3 separate regions of the Homo sapiens genome follow, and all the other regions are linked to region 3. Evidence: promoter capture Hi-C in human tissues and cell types (Jung and others, 2019). All regions are on one chromosome and are shown on one strand. Each heading gives the region's core, a stretch centred on a gene start or on the middle of the fragment in contact. The rest is flanking DNA. Distances are from core to core; before and after follow the strand shown. Region 1 overlaps ZZEF1 (zinc finger ZZ-type and EF-hand domain containing 1). Region 2 has its middle 48 kb from the start of TRARG1. Region 3 holds the start of TSR1 (TSR1 ribosome maturation factor).

Region 1 (4,529 bases), core at 359-2,858, 1.8 Mb before region 3:
CTGCTAATCTAGAGTAGGTAAAGCTATTGGGGGATTCAGAAAGATAAATGTAAGCAAAGACAAGAAAAGGGAAACACTAAAACAGACATTAAGGTGGAAAGGCCAAGAAACATGGCAGGAATGGAGACGGTGATGTGCTAATCTGTTTAAGAGAACATAACATTCATGGCACATCTTTAGATACCATAGATCTTCAGATCCTAGCTATAAAATTTTCTTTTGTTTTTTTTTTTTCCCTGTTGCTGCTGAACAAATTATAAAATAAATTTTCTACTGAGCCTCAAGCTGCTCTGCCTCTTGGGTCAGTTTTTCTAGTACTACTTAACATGAAAGCTGGATTCTAGAGAGTTGAATAAGTTTTATTCAACAGAGGGAGGCAGAACTCCTAAAAGAAAGAAAGAAACAAACAAACACAAAACCCTATTAAACTACTTAGCACTGTGACTCCTGGGCAAAAAGGGATAGTTTAGGCTGGGCACGGTGGCTTACACCTGTAATCATAGCACTGTGGGAGGACGAGGTAGGTGGATCACGAGGTCAGGAGTTCAAGCCCAGCCTGGCCAAGATGGTGAAACCCTGTCTCTACTAAAAATACAAATTAGTCAAGCGTGGTGGCGGGCTCCTGTAATCCTAGCTACTCAGGAAGCTGAGGCAGGAGAATCGCTTGAACCTGGGAGGTGGAGGTTGCAGTGAGCCGAGATCGCACCACTGCACTCTAGCCTGGGTGATAGAGCGAGACTCCGTCTCAAAAAAAAAGAAGGGCCAGTTTATATTGTGTGCCAGCTTCTCTGTGGGAACACTGTCTGTTTATAAGGGATTAGTCAAAACAAGCTTCTAACAGTTTATTTTTTGTCTAAATTCGGTCTGGTTTTGTTCTGATTACATTTTACATTTTCCTCTTCTAGGAAGGCGCTGCGGCACATGCCTCCACTCTCTCTCTCACCAGGATCTACAGATTTCTCAACTTTCCTCTCCCCTAATGTGCTGGAAGAAGTGGACAGTTTCCTCATAAGGATAACTAGGTAAAATCAAGGCTGATGAGGGTAAACTCTGTGAGGAATGGAGTGCACGTATGCTTGTTAAGTCTTTAAAAAATATATATTAATCTTTTAACGATCACCACTAAAAATGGTTGCTTTTTAGCAGCTAAAGAGAAAGTGACATAATAGTTCACTCATCTAAAGTCCACTATTTAGCAGTATCACCTGACCTGAAGAATTGGGAAGGTTGGTGAGGGGTGTTGCAGGGCCCAAGGGGAGTAGTCCTGTGATTCTGATAGAACAGATGTCTCAAAGTCCAACTGGCATAGCCTTCCCTCACTCAGAACCTGCTGACCTTCACATGCAGGTCCAGGGAGCCTGATTACCTACAGAACTGGGAAAGGGCACCTGGATAGCTTGATAGCAGTGACCACTTTGTGTAGGGACACTCACTTCTGCCTCAGTGAGCCCTGAGGACATTATTGCATTAGAGGTCAAACCAGTCCCTGAGCCATCTAGACAGTTTTTAACGTTTCAGTATAATGTGTTTAAATTAAAAGCAAAGAAGTGTAATTCAGTGTGATACATTTTTAGTGCTTCAAGCATAAACCCTCAACTCTCTGGTCAAGCCAGCTCATTACCCAAGGCTTCTTAATAGCAGAGGCTTATTACAGTAGCGTATTGGTATTATTTAATATTTAAAGATTAAAGATTATAGAAGTGAGGCTTTCATTCCCTGGCTCTCTGGATTGATTTAATTTTTCCTTAGGTTACCTTAAGGATTTTGAAAAATATTTCGGATAAACCTGTAGAAAGCATATGGCAGGTTAATGTTACTTGTGTTGATCACTTACATGGGGTTTGAGCTACCTGGATTTTTTCATGTTTTTAAGAAGTGAAAAGTTTTTGCTCTTTGCTTATAGCTGCTGTTCTACCCCAGAGGTAGAACTGACTCTTCTGGCTTTTGCTCTCGCAAGAGGAAGTGTTGCCAAAGTCATGAGCTCTCTATGCACCATCACTGACCATCTGGACACGCAGTATGATGCCTCATCCCTCATCTTGTCCATGGCGTCAGTCAGACAGAACCTGCTCCTCAAATATGGTAAATATGGTAAAACATGGGGGTGATAGAAATGTCAACAGTGGACAAATCGTAAAACCATTCTTCGCCATATGACCTCCTGGTATCTTCTCATCTTTTTGGGTTGTTATAGTTACACCATGATTCCTGGATGAACGTATCCTCTGAGTATCAGACCTTACTAGGATTGGCAGGGAGAAGGGGGATTTAGGTTCATTTATGTGATGGCAGTATCACCAGAAGAGGACACTTGATTGTCCACAAGGCTATACTCCCATGATCTGCTTGCAAAATTACTCAGGTCTGGTGGCCATTTGAACACAGCCATCTTTGGTGAAGTACTGAAGTGTCTCATTGTGTAGGCCAAGAGGGTTGGAGTAGTTCTTACCTGTTGGAGGGAGGAAACTAGCCAAGATACGGTGCAAAGGGATCTTTGTCTTAGAATGCATTCCTCTGCATTCCCGTGATAGCTGCTCTGAAGGATTTGGACACCTGTCTGCCACTGCTTTCCCCCCTTGGGCCTAGCAGTAATTCATATGAGCACTTTTCTACCAAACCAGGATGGGGCCTTATAATCCTTCTCAACATGGGAGCCCATAAAGTCACTCCCAAAAGACTGCAGTGCAGCACTTCTACTTGTGAGTGCAGCCTTCCTGGACTCCACAATATGTGGTGTTGGGTCTCATCCTGTTGGCAGTATTCCAGTGACATTTCTACCCTTTTATTTATTTTGAGAGAGAGTGTCTTGCTGTGTTGCACAGATTGGAGTGCAGTGGCATGATCACGGCTCACTGCAGCCTTGACCTCCCAGGCTCAAGTGATCCTCCTGTGTCACTCTCCCGAGTACCTGGGACCACAGGTGCATGCCAGCATACCTGGTTAATTTTTAAAAATTTTTTGTAGAGATTGGGTCTCACTATGTTGCCCAAGCTGGTCTTGAACTCCTAGGCTGAAGCAGTCCTCCCACCTTGGCCTCTTAAAATCCTGGGACTGCAGGCGTGAGCCACCACACCTGGCTTCTGCCGTGAGGTTTCTACCTTCGTCTTAGTGTGACTGACTTAATGGCTTCTTTTTATGTTTATTTTTATTTTTATTTATTTATTTTTTGAGACAGAGTCCTGCTCTGTCATCCAGGTTGGAGTGCACTGGCATAATCTGAGCCCACTGCAGCGTCCACCTCCCAGGTTCAGGTGATCCTCTTGCCTCAGCCTCCTGAGTAGCTGGGACTATAGGCATGGGTCACCACACCTGGCTAGTTAAAAATTTTTTTTTTTTTAGAAATGAGCTCTCCCCATGTTGACCAGGCTGGTCTCAAACTCCTGGACTCAAGCAGTACTCCCACCTCAGCCTCCCAAAGTGCTGGAATTTACAGGCATGAGCCATGATGCCCAGCCTGTTTAATTTTTTTTTTCTTTTGCCTGTTTAAATTTTTAAGTTAGACAATTGGTGTCCTGTAAATCTAGTTTCCTCCCTAAATTTTGAAAGGTTATTTTCTTGGGTGGTTGGGGGTTGCACTGGTCAACAGCCCAGAGCAGCCATGGCTGGATAGAAGGGATAGCAGGTAGTGTCTGGAAGCTGAATAGAATTTAGATTAATGGTTGTTCAGGCAGGGAGCAGTGGATAGGAAGGAATGGGGTAATGTTCTAGTTCTAGGTCATATCATAGGTGAACAGGTGTACATTCTATTATTAAAACAAAAGGAAAACATTTTCAGATCATCATAGCAAAAGTTGATTTATATGTATATATAAATATATATTTTTTTTTGCCAAAGCCAAGTGTTCTGAAAAAGTTGATTTTTCTAATTCTTGAAACAGAAATTTTGCCTGCAGAGATGATTTAAAGAAACGAGACCTAAAATATTTTATATTTAAATGCAATTGTAATAAAGTTAATTATTGGCTCCAAAACAGTATCTTAGGAATCACCCCCCCAAATGTGTTCAATCTATGTTATCAACCTATGTCTTATAATGTCCTTTTTTCAGAACAATGATTGTTCTAGAAAGCTGTCCTTGGAATCACTCAGGGCCATAGCTGTACTTTGTCTCTTTCAGGAAAGTACAAAGGGATGGTGTCAACTTTTGTCTGATATTACTGCTCTATTTCAGCTTTTAAACAGGGAGATTTTTAGTTAGCAGTCTGGGTAGCCACAGGACTCTATTTCCACAGATAGGCATGCTAGTTTCCAGTTCTTCATATTTTAGCTTACAGCTTGGTCTTCCTTTTCTTTGGTCAGGTAAACCTCTCCAGTTGACTCTTCAGGCATGTGATGTCAAAGGAAAAGAAGATAAGTCTGGACCCGAAAACCTCCTTGTTGAACCGTGGACAAGGGATGGTGAGTGGTGGGTCTGTCTGTTTCTAGTGTGCTCGGTAGACAGGAGTCAGCTGTGTGAAAGCACACTCCAGACTTTGAAATGTTTGAGGCGTGCAGTCTTCAATTTTAGGTTGTTTCTCAGTTGGCAGTGG
Region 2 (4,792 bases), core at 1,842-4,341, 1.0 Mb after region 3:
CAAGAAATAATGTGGGGGCCCGGGCAGTTTTCCACTAGACTGCCAGTCCCCGGAGAGCTGGGGGGCATGTGCTGTTCATCTCTGTATCATGTGCATGAACTTTATGCAGAAACTGTCATGTCACTCCTGAATTAGGCTCAACCCATCTCGGAGCCCCTATCCTACTGGGCTACCAAAAGTGAAATCAATCTTAGTCATACTGAGTCTCCTTCCCTTTGCCTCTTGCGTTATGCAGAGTTCCCAAGAGTCTTTCACCGTCCGGGCATTTGAGGAAAACACTCAAATCCACACTGGACCCCCCTGAGATGCTGCCAACTGAGCCACGTAATCCCTTGAAGCTGCCAGTGTCTGAGAGAGGTCTCTGCTAAGGATGCCCTGGGTTTTTGGTGGGCCGCATCCCACCGGTCAAGGGGCTGGCACTCCCAGGGGAACTGTGAGGGAGGGGACATAGGCGGGAGCAGTCACAGGTTGGCACCAGTGGCCTGTCCTCCCCACCACTCCCTAGTCTCCGGGGAAGCTCTATGGAGTTCCCTCTGCCTCCCAACGTCCTGCCCTCCCACCCCATGCCGGAGTTGCTTCTCCTCTCTCGGTGGGGATGGGAAGGCAAAGGAAGGAGAGGCTGACCCCCTCATAACTCACCCCGGGGCAGTGGCCTCAGCATCTGGCACACTGTCTGCATTAAGTGGTTGCTGAGTGACTGGGGAAAGGAATACAAGCAAACGCTGTCGGGTTTTAACACCAATTTGCTTGTGTGCATGAGCTCAGGACCCAAAGCCCATCTTCAGAGGTGGTCCTGAGTCACCTCCTGCTGACCCCATAGAGCCGGAGCGGGCACCTCTGCAGCTCCGTGGACTAACCCTCTTCCTTAGAACTGTGGGGTACTGGGTCAGAGTCCTTCCAGCTGTCTCTGTGGGGTACTGGGTCAGAGTCCTTCCAGTGGTCTCTGTGGGGTACTGGGTCAGAGTCCTTCTAGCAATCTCTGTGGAGTACCGAGTCAGAGTCCTTCTAGCGGTCTCTGTGGGGTACTGGCTTAGAGTCCTTCCAGTGGGCCCTCTGAGGTACTGGGTCAGAGTCCTTCCAGCAGTCTCTGTGGTGTACTTGGTCAGGGTCCTTCCAGTGGTCTCTGTCGGGTACTGGGTCAGAGTCCTTCCAGTGGGCCCTCTGGAGTACTGGGTCAGAGTCCTTCCCATGGTTTCTGTGGGGTACTGGGTCAGAGTCCTTCCAGCAGTCTCTGTGGGGTACCGGGCCAGAGTCCTTCCAGTGGTCCCTGTGGGGTACTGGGTCAGAGTCCTTCCAGTGGTCTCTGTGGGGTACTGGGTCAGAGTCCTTCCAGTGTTTCTCTGTGGGATACTGGATCAGAGTCCTTCCAGCGGTCTCTGTGGGGTACTGGGTCAGAGTCCTTCTGGCTGTCTCTGTGGGGTACTGGCTCAGAGTCCTTCCAGCTATCTCTGTGGGGTACAGGGTCAGAGTCCTTCTGGCTATCTCTGTGGGGTACTGGGTCAGAGTCCTTCCAGGGTTTCTCTGTGGGGTACTGGATCAGAGTCCTTCCAGCGGTCTCTGTGGGGTACTGGCTCAGAGTCCTTCCGGCTATCTATGTGGGGTACAGGGTCAGAGTCCTTCCGGCTATCTCTGTGGGATACCGGGTCAGAGTCCTTCCAGTGTTTCTCTGTGGGGTACTGGATCAGAGTCCTTCCAGCAGTCTCTGTGGGGTACTGGCTCAGAGTCCTTCCGGCTGTCTCTGTGGGGTACTGGCTCAGAGTCCTTCCGGCTGTCTCTGTGGGGTACTGGGTCAGAGACCCGTGCCAGGCCACTTCCTCCTTGTTTTAAAACCTATGGGAGGGACTGCATAACGGGTATGGTGATTTCTTTTGGAATCATGAGGTGTTTTCAAACCACGTAGAAGTGGTAGTTACACAAATGGGAATGTACTCAATGCCACTGAATTGTGCCATTTATTTATTTACTTTTTGAGACGGATTCTTACTCCGTCGTCCAGGCTGGAGGGCAATGGTGTGATCTCGGCTCACTGCAACCTCCGCCTCCCAGGTTCAAGGGATTCTCCTGCCTCACCCTCCCTAGTAGTTGGGACTACAGGCACCCACCACCACGCCCAGCTAATTTTTGTATTTTTAGTAGAGACGGGGTTTTGCCACGTTGGCCAGGCTGGTCTCGAACTCCTGACCTCAGGTGATCCACCCTCCTCGGCCTCTTGGCCTCCCAAAGTACTGGGATTACAGGCGTGAGCCACCGCACCCAGCCAGAATTGTACACTTTAAAAAGAAAACAAAGACAAAAACTATCTTTCTTAGTTTAAGCTACTATAACAAATTACCATAGACTGGGTAGTTTGAACAACCTATATTTCCCACCGTTCTGGAGGCTGGGAAGTCTGAGGTGAAGGTGCAGGCAGACCCAGCGTCGGCCGAGGGTCCTGGTTTGCAGATGGACACTCCGTCCCCACCTGGCAGACAGCAGAGACAGAGAGACAGAGCAAGCCTCGTGTCTCTGTTTTTTGAGACGGAGTCTTGCTCTATCCCCCAGGCTGGAGTGCAGTGGCGTGATCTCGGCTCACTGCAAGCTCCGTCTCCCGGGTTCAGGCCATTCTCCTGTCTCAGCCTCCCAAGTAGCTGGGACTATGGGCTCCCACCCCACACCCGGCTAATTTTTTGGTATTTTTAGTAGAGACGGGGTTTCACCGTGTTAGTCGGGATGGTCTCGATCTCCTGACCTCATGATCCACCCACCTTGGCCTCCCAAAGTGCTGGGATTACAGGCGTGAGCCACCGCGCCAGGCCCCCTATATCTCTTCTTAAAAGGTCACTAAGCTTGGCCAGGTGCGGTGGCTCACGCCTATAATCCCAGCACTTTGGGAGCCCGAGGTGGGTGGATCACCTGAGTTTGGGAGTTTGAGACCAACCTGACCAACATGGAGAAACCCTGTCTCTACTAAAAATACAAAATTAGCCGGGTGTGGTGGCGGGCGCCTGTAATCCCAGCTACTCGGGGGGCTGAGGCAGAAGAATCGCTTGAACCCAGGAGGCAGAAGTTGTGGTGAGCCAAGATCACACCACTGCACTCCAGCCTGGGCAACAAGAGCAAAACTCCATCTCCAGAAAGAAAAAACAAAAACAGCCACTAATGTCATTCATGAAGGCTCTGCCTGCCTGACCGAATCATCTCTCAAAGCCCCACATCCTAATACCATCACATTGGAGGTTCAGATGTCCACATATGAATTTTTTTTTTTTTGAGACGGAGTCTTGCTCTGTTGCCCAGGCTGGAGTGCAGTGGTACGATCTCTGCTCACTGCAAGCTCCGTCTCCCGGGTTCACGCCATTCTCCTGCCTCAGCCTCCCAAGTAGCTGGGACTACAGGTGCCCATCACGACGCCCGGCTAATTTTTTGTATTTTTAGTAGAGACAGGGTTTCACCGTGTTAGCCAGGATGGTCTTGATCTCCTGACCTCGTGATCCGCCCTCCTCGGCCTCCCAAAGTGCTGGGATTACAGGCGTGAGCCACCGCGCCCAGCCGTCCACATATGAATTTTAGAGGGACACAAATATTCAGTCCATAACACTACCTAAATGGTCCTTCCTGTTTTCTTTTTTGTTTTTGAGATGGAGTCTCACTCTTTTGCCCAGGCTGGAGTACAGTAGCACAATCTCGGCTCATTGCAACCTCTGCCTCCCAGGTTCAAGTGATTCTCTTGCCTCAGCCTCCTGAGTAGCTGGGACTACAGGCGGGCGCCACCATGCCAGGCTAATTTTTATATTTTTAGGAGAGATGGGGTTTTCCCATGTTGGCCAGGCTGGTCTCGAACTCCTGACCTCAAGTGATCCTCCTGCCTCGGCCTCCCAAAGTGCTGGGATTTCAAGTGTGAGCCACTGTGCCCGGCCCAGACTGCATTTTTAAATTATTTGAATTATGTTTTTAACAAGAGAAATAGGTTGCTTTGAAAACATCAGTATTGAAAACATGTTTCTTAATGGATGGATGGAGACTGTTCTGTTTAGCCAAGAGCACTTCAGAAGCTCCACTCTGGTAGGAGATTGGAGCACTGAACCATTAATGGAGCCGTGAGCCCTGTGCATCGGATCATATCCGATCATTTATGGTGGTGCACAGTTGGCGACTATGGCGTCTGGGCCGTGGCTCCTCTGGAACCCCATCAAGCACGACTTGATATTTATATTTAACTGAACATGGTTCCAGCTTTTAAACTTCCTGCTGAAGGTGACCTATGCAAAGAGAACCCAAGAGTGGCTCTCCCAGCTCGCCTCGGATAAGGGTCTTGCTAATTTCCCTTCTCACAGCCGCTTTCCGCTTCCAGCACGGCTTCCCACCCGGGACACTGTCTAGGCGTGTAGGTGCTATGCTGTAGACGCTAGGTAGGTAAGTGCCTCATCCAAGTTGATACCCTTTTAAGAAAGCAATGGAGAATTCACAGTAAATGCTTGATCTTGTAACACCTCTTTGTGACTCTATTCTGGTCCTGCTGTTTGATCCAGCCCATTTATTAGTTCATAAAAATTTCACATAAACTAAATTTCATCTCCTAGGCTGAGTTCTATCAGATTAATATTTAACTCCAAGGAAATGTGGACATTTGCCTTAAAGAAGTTGTTTATTCCAGGAAAGAATCTATATTGTTATTATTTGAATGTCTTTGATTATGGTATGAAATTTTATTTTAGCCCAAAGCTCCCAGCAATCTTCTGTTGAAAATGGCAAATTTTCATGGATCAATCCACTGGTCTAGCATCTAAGCATTTTTATTACATTTTTTTCTGAC
Region 3 (4,797 bases), core at 287-2,786:
CACTGGGCGGGGAGCTGCGGGGCTGCGAAGCAAACAAGCCGGGAGCGCCGGCCGGGTCCCCCGGGCAGAGGGGCGCTGCCCTCCCCCATCCGAGAAAGGGGAAGGAGGCGCAGCCCGTCCAGGACCCGCCCCGCCCGGCCCAGGTTCGGCCCGGGTGCCCGCGCCGGGGGGTGGGCGCGGACCTTTCTGCCCCCTGGGCCGCGCGGGCCAGGGCGCGAGCCCCCCGGGGTTCTTGACTCGACTTTACCTCCTTCTTCACGTTCCACAGCAGTTTCTCTTTGACTGCGTCCTCTGCGCTGCCCATGGTGTGGCAGGAGGCGGCGCCGAGCGGTCCTCAGAGCCCCCGCGCCCTCGCCGCCTCCGCGCCTCTCGGCTCAGCGCCCCACGCGCAAGGCGGAGCCCCCGCCCGCCGCGCTCCCGGCCCGCCGCCGCCGCCGCCGCCGCAGCCACTGCCCGGTGCTCGGCTCCGCAGCCATCTTCCGAGCCCCGCACAGACGTCAGGCGGCAGGCCCGGCCCCTTCCCACAGCCGGAGGGGGGTTGCGCACAGCGACGGGGGATCGGGGCGGGGAGAGGCCGTGCGCGCCTAGGGGCGGCAGACCCGGGCGCGCGCCACGGGGGTCGCTGTCATGGCAACGCACCCGCTCCCGCATGGAGGGCGCGAAGCCGCATTGTGAGCGCTGGCCCTGGAGCCCGCGGCCCCGCGGCTGAGAGCGAGCCTCGGTCCCGCTGAAGCTCCCCTGACTTCTGCCTGCTCCCTCTCCCGACGGGACGGAAAGGGCCGGGGCTCGGGCATGGGGTCCCCTGCGGTCCGAGCCTGCCCACGGCGAAGCCGGTGCAGCCTGGCCCCGTGACCCCTCTGAATCCCCGTCCGGCCGTCGCCGTGCAGTTGTCAAGTTTCTGGGAAGATTAGTGGGAGCGCAGCCGCCCGAGCCCGACGGCCGGAGGGTCGCGGCCAGTCCCCCTTGCCGGGTCGCCACGTCCCACAAGGTCCTTCCCGGCCGCTCCGTGGGAGGCGGGGCGCAGGTTGGAGTAACAGGGACGGGCTTGAGCTGGTACGGAACCGGGCAAGGTGAGAGAAGTGTCTTCCACGCGATTCCCAAGCCTCGCTAGGGAATCGAGGGAGAAGAAAGGTTGCTCAGAGTGATAAAGAACATGCCGTTGCAAACGGAAGAGCAACGTGCCCGAATCTAGGTGACAGGAAGGGCTTAGGCCTTTTCGGCACGAATGGAGCCTTCCAGTCAACATGCTTCTACGTGATGCAGCTTTATAGCGCAAAAAAATGACAATGCAAGGGGTACAAACAGCCCTGCTAGACCAACAGCCCGAGCCTCGACAGTCTACATCCGGCGCCTTCAAGCCCCCAACCACACACTGCGAAGTGGGAAAAGTTCCCAGCGCGGCTTGGCGAACCCGCTAACACGGCGCTCTCACGAGCTGCTGGAAAAGACCTTCGCGAGAGGGCGCAGGGAGTCCCGCTCCCTGGAGGGCCCGCCCCCTTGGAGGGGACCGGAAGCGCTTGTCCTGGCCCGGAAGCAGTGCTGACTCCGTACACGCGCGCTGCGGCATGGCGGCCCACCGCCCCGGCCCGCTCAAGCAGCAGAATAAAGCTCATAAAGGCGGACGGCATCGGGGTCGGGGATCTGCACAGCGGGACGGCAAGGGTAAGGAGATAACGTAGAAGGAATAAGGGCTATTTGGCCGTTATTAACTCTTTTTCCTCATGCCCAGACTGAGCTTCTGTCTCCCGTCTGGGCTCCACGCGAAAGGCCCTTTCTAAGGTGGGCGGAGAGGAGTCCCTTTTCTTGACCTTGTGGGGCCGATCACACCAGCCCCTTCTAATCTGCCATTCAGGCCGTCTGGCACTGAAAACCCTAAGCAAGAAGGTGAGAAAAGAACTCAGCAGAGTCGACCAGAGGCATCGCGCCAGCCAGCTCCGAAAGCAGAAGAAGGAGGCGGTGAGAGGAGCGGGATTTGGGAGAATGCGGCTTCTCTGGTGTTCTAGGTGGCTAATGCCTCGAAGTGGAAAATGAGACCGGGAGGAGGGTCCAGGGACAGAGCATAGCCCTAGAGCACGTGTCGAGCGTGCAGGTCTAGCATTCTTTGCTTTGGTCAGAATTCCTGCCACCCCGCTGGCATACCTGTGGTCTTTTACTAGAGAGATGCTGGTTTTGGGTAGGGGGAGCATCTGTGGGAGTGGAAATGCAATGCTGGAGTGAAGTACTGAGACACTGAGATGTTCTCGGATATCTTTCTATTTTCAGGTTCTGGCAGAGAAGAGACAGCTGGGTGGCAAGGATGGCCCTCCTCATCAGGTACTGGTGGTGCCCCTGCACAGCAGAATTTCCCTGCCAGAGGCCATGCAGCTGCTTCAAGATAGGGACACTGGAACAGTACACTTGAATGAATTGGGAAACACCCAGAACTTTATGCTGCTGTGCCCCCGCTTGAAACATCGGTGGTTTTTCACCTCAGCAAGGCCAGGTTAGAGTATACACCAATATTTTGTATTATGTTTGAGTAGTGGTATTTTTTTTTTTTTTTTTTAGAATAATGTGCTGGTGCCAACCACCTCTTCTTACTGTGTCTTCTATCTGCAGGGGATCTGCACGTTGTGTTAGACATGGCTAAAGTAGCTGATACCATCCTGTTCCTCCTTGATCCACTAGAAGGCTGGGACAGCACCGGTGATTACTGTCTTTCCTGCCTCTTTGCTCAGGGCCTTCCGACCTATAGTAAGTGAGTTAGCATTTATTGTGCACCTTTAATTTGTCAGGCACTATGCCTGGTATTTGATACAGGAATACAACTGATGGATCATATTCAGCTGGTGGTGGGATGTACACATATGGATTAAACTTGATCCATTGTTTACAGATTATCACTCAGGGTGTCTTTTTGTTTTTGGCTGTCCTTTGCCCAGAGAAACAAGGATATGAAGTTTGATTTCACTGTGAAATTCCTTCAGGGTAGTTCAGTGTTGGGCTTCCCAGTGATCTCTGGGCTTGCAACTGAGCTATTAGGTTGTTTGTGAACTGCAGAGGGATTTTTATGTAATGAAGCAGTAGGTCATGAAGCGTTTTCTCTTTCGCTTACAGCACTAGCTGTCCAGGGGATTTCTGGCCTCCCACTGAAGAAACAAATAGATACCAGGAAGAAGCTAAGTAAAGCAGTGGAGAAGCGCTTTCCGCATGACAAACTCCTCTTGTTAGACACTCAACAGGAGGCAGGGATGCTGCTTAGGCAGTTGGCTAACCAGAAGCAACAGCATCTTGCTTTTCGAGATCGGCGGGCCTACCTATTTGCCCATGCTGTTGATTTTGTTCCTAGTGAAGAGAATAACTTGGTGGGCACCTTGAAAATTTCAGGCTATGTTCGAGGGCAGACTCTGAATGTCAATAGGTTGCTGCATATCGTTGGATATGGTGATTTCCAGATGAAACAGATAGATGCCCCCGGAGACCCTTTCCCTTTAAATCCTAGAGGAATTAAACCCCAAAAGGACCCAGACATGGCAATGGAGGTAAGACTGATATTCTTAATTCATGTTCATATGAAAGTTGGCACAGGAAGGAAACTTAAATTCAGAGAAGATAGTCTGTACACTTAGGTGAATGAGGAGACTGCTAGTCTGAAGTAAGGCAATAGTCAGTTATAAATAGGTTGATAAATCACATATTTATCCAGCACTTTCTAGGTAGTCTGCACTGTGATTGGCTCTGAGTTTATAGAACACACTCAAGATGTGGTTGCTTTCCTCAAGGGACTTAATTGGGCTGGAACAAAATGGCATGTGTGAAATAAAGATTGAGATAGCATATGGTTAGAGTGCGGACCAGCAGTGGAAGTTGAGAAAGTAGACTAGCAAGCTTCACATAAGAGATCAGACTTGAGCTAGGTGTTGAGAAGGATAAATGTGATTTATGAGTTGAAGAGGGATAAAAGAATATCCTAGAAGATAAGAGACAGAATGAACCTAGGCACAGTGGTGGATCAAAGGGTTTATGTGAACCTTGAAGAAATCAGCTTGATGGGAGTGAGGTACGTAATAAATGGATAGGAGTGGGAGCAGATTAAGAAAGACCTCAAGAGCCAAGCAGAGACTTAAAATACCCTGGAAATTAGAAAACAGCCATTGGAAAAGTTTTGACAAGTTTTAGCATTCTGTCGCACTCATCTTATACATGAGGACTGATATTTCTGGGTCTTTCTGGTTACTGTGTTAGATTTAGGAGATTTTTGGTTCATGGTTGACTATCACCTGCTTTTGGTTTTCAGATTTGTGCTACGGATGCTGTAGATGATATGGAAGAAGGTCTTAAAGTCCTAATGAAGGCAGACCCTGGTAGACAGGAATCCTTGCAAGCAGAGGTTATCCCAGATCCAATGGAGGGAGAGCAAACCTGGCCCACTGAGGAGGAGCTGAGCGAGGCAAAGGGTCAGTATTGGTAAACTTGTCTGTAATTCATCTGACCTGGAATTGTGGATTTTCTGTAGCTGTTCCAAGTGAGGGCCCTATAGGATAGAGTGGGGTGGGGGTATAGTTGAAAGTCTCTCCTCACCCTCAAATGCTGTATGTTTTCAATAAACAAACATTATACACAGTCTTGTTCCATTTCTCAAAATTACTTGTGTTAATGTTTTATCATGAACAGATAAACAACTTTGGATTCATTGCAGGGCTTATTTAGCTGTGTAAGTATTGCTAGTTGTGAGGCAGCTGAATTAAATTTGGAAGTAGTTCTATTTACAGTGTCTGCCAGAATTTCCCATGTTGGCAGCAGTATCTGGTGCCTTGC

The links. The method cuts DNA at HindIII sites, captures the fragments that hold promoters and counts their contacts. A contact is called where the count stands out against the background at its distance.
Region 1: a contact is called between a fragment that was not itself captured here and the fragment with the promoter of TSR1 in region 3, in 1 of the 25 tissues and cell types used here (H1 embryonic stem cells).
Region 2: a contact is called between a fragment that was not itself captured here and the fragment with the promoter of TSR1 in region 3, in 2 of the 25 tissues and cell types used here (heart left ventricle and stomach).

The regions. Positions count from the first base shown.
Region 1 is chr17:4,102,186-4,106,714 of GRCh38, reverse strand. It overlaps ZZEF1 (zinc finger ZZ-type and EF-hand domain containing 1), which reads left to right. Exons shown (of 55, transcript NM_015113.4): 7 at 906-1,022; 8 at 1,904-2,082; 9 at 4,300-4,398. Among named protein-coding and RNA genes, the nearest start is that of ZZEF1, 39 kb to the left of the region's middle. The HindIII fragment of the contact is 5,712 bases long and covers 1-4,464 here.
Region 2 is chr17:1,325,481-1,330,272 of GRCh38, reverse strand. No RefSeq gene overlaps it. Among named protein-coding and RNA genes, the nearest start is that of TRARG1, 48 kb to the right of the region's middle. The HindIII fragment of the contact is 9,860 bases long and covers 1-4,792 here.
Region 3 is chr17:2,333,196-2,337,992 of GRCh38, reverse strand. TSR1 (TSR1 ribosome maturation factor) reads left to right here and starts at 1,536. Exons shown (of 15, transcript NM_018128.5): 1 at 1,536-1,662; 2 at 1,853-1,956; 3 at 2,263-2,482; 4 at 2,599-2,733; 5 at 3,097-3,521; 6 at 4,277-4,436. The coding sequence starts at 1,566. It overlaps SGSM2 (small G protein signaling modulator 2), which reads right to left and starts at 492. Exons shown (of 24, transcript NM_014853.3): 1 at 248-492. The coding sequence starts at 304. RefSeq lists silencers at 1-118, 149-248, 349-458, 559-868, 899-1,028 and an enhancer at 1,259-1,368. The HindIII fragment of the contact is 7,910 bases long and covers 1-4,797 here.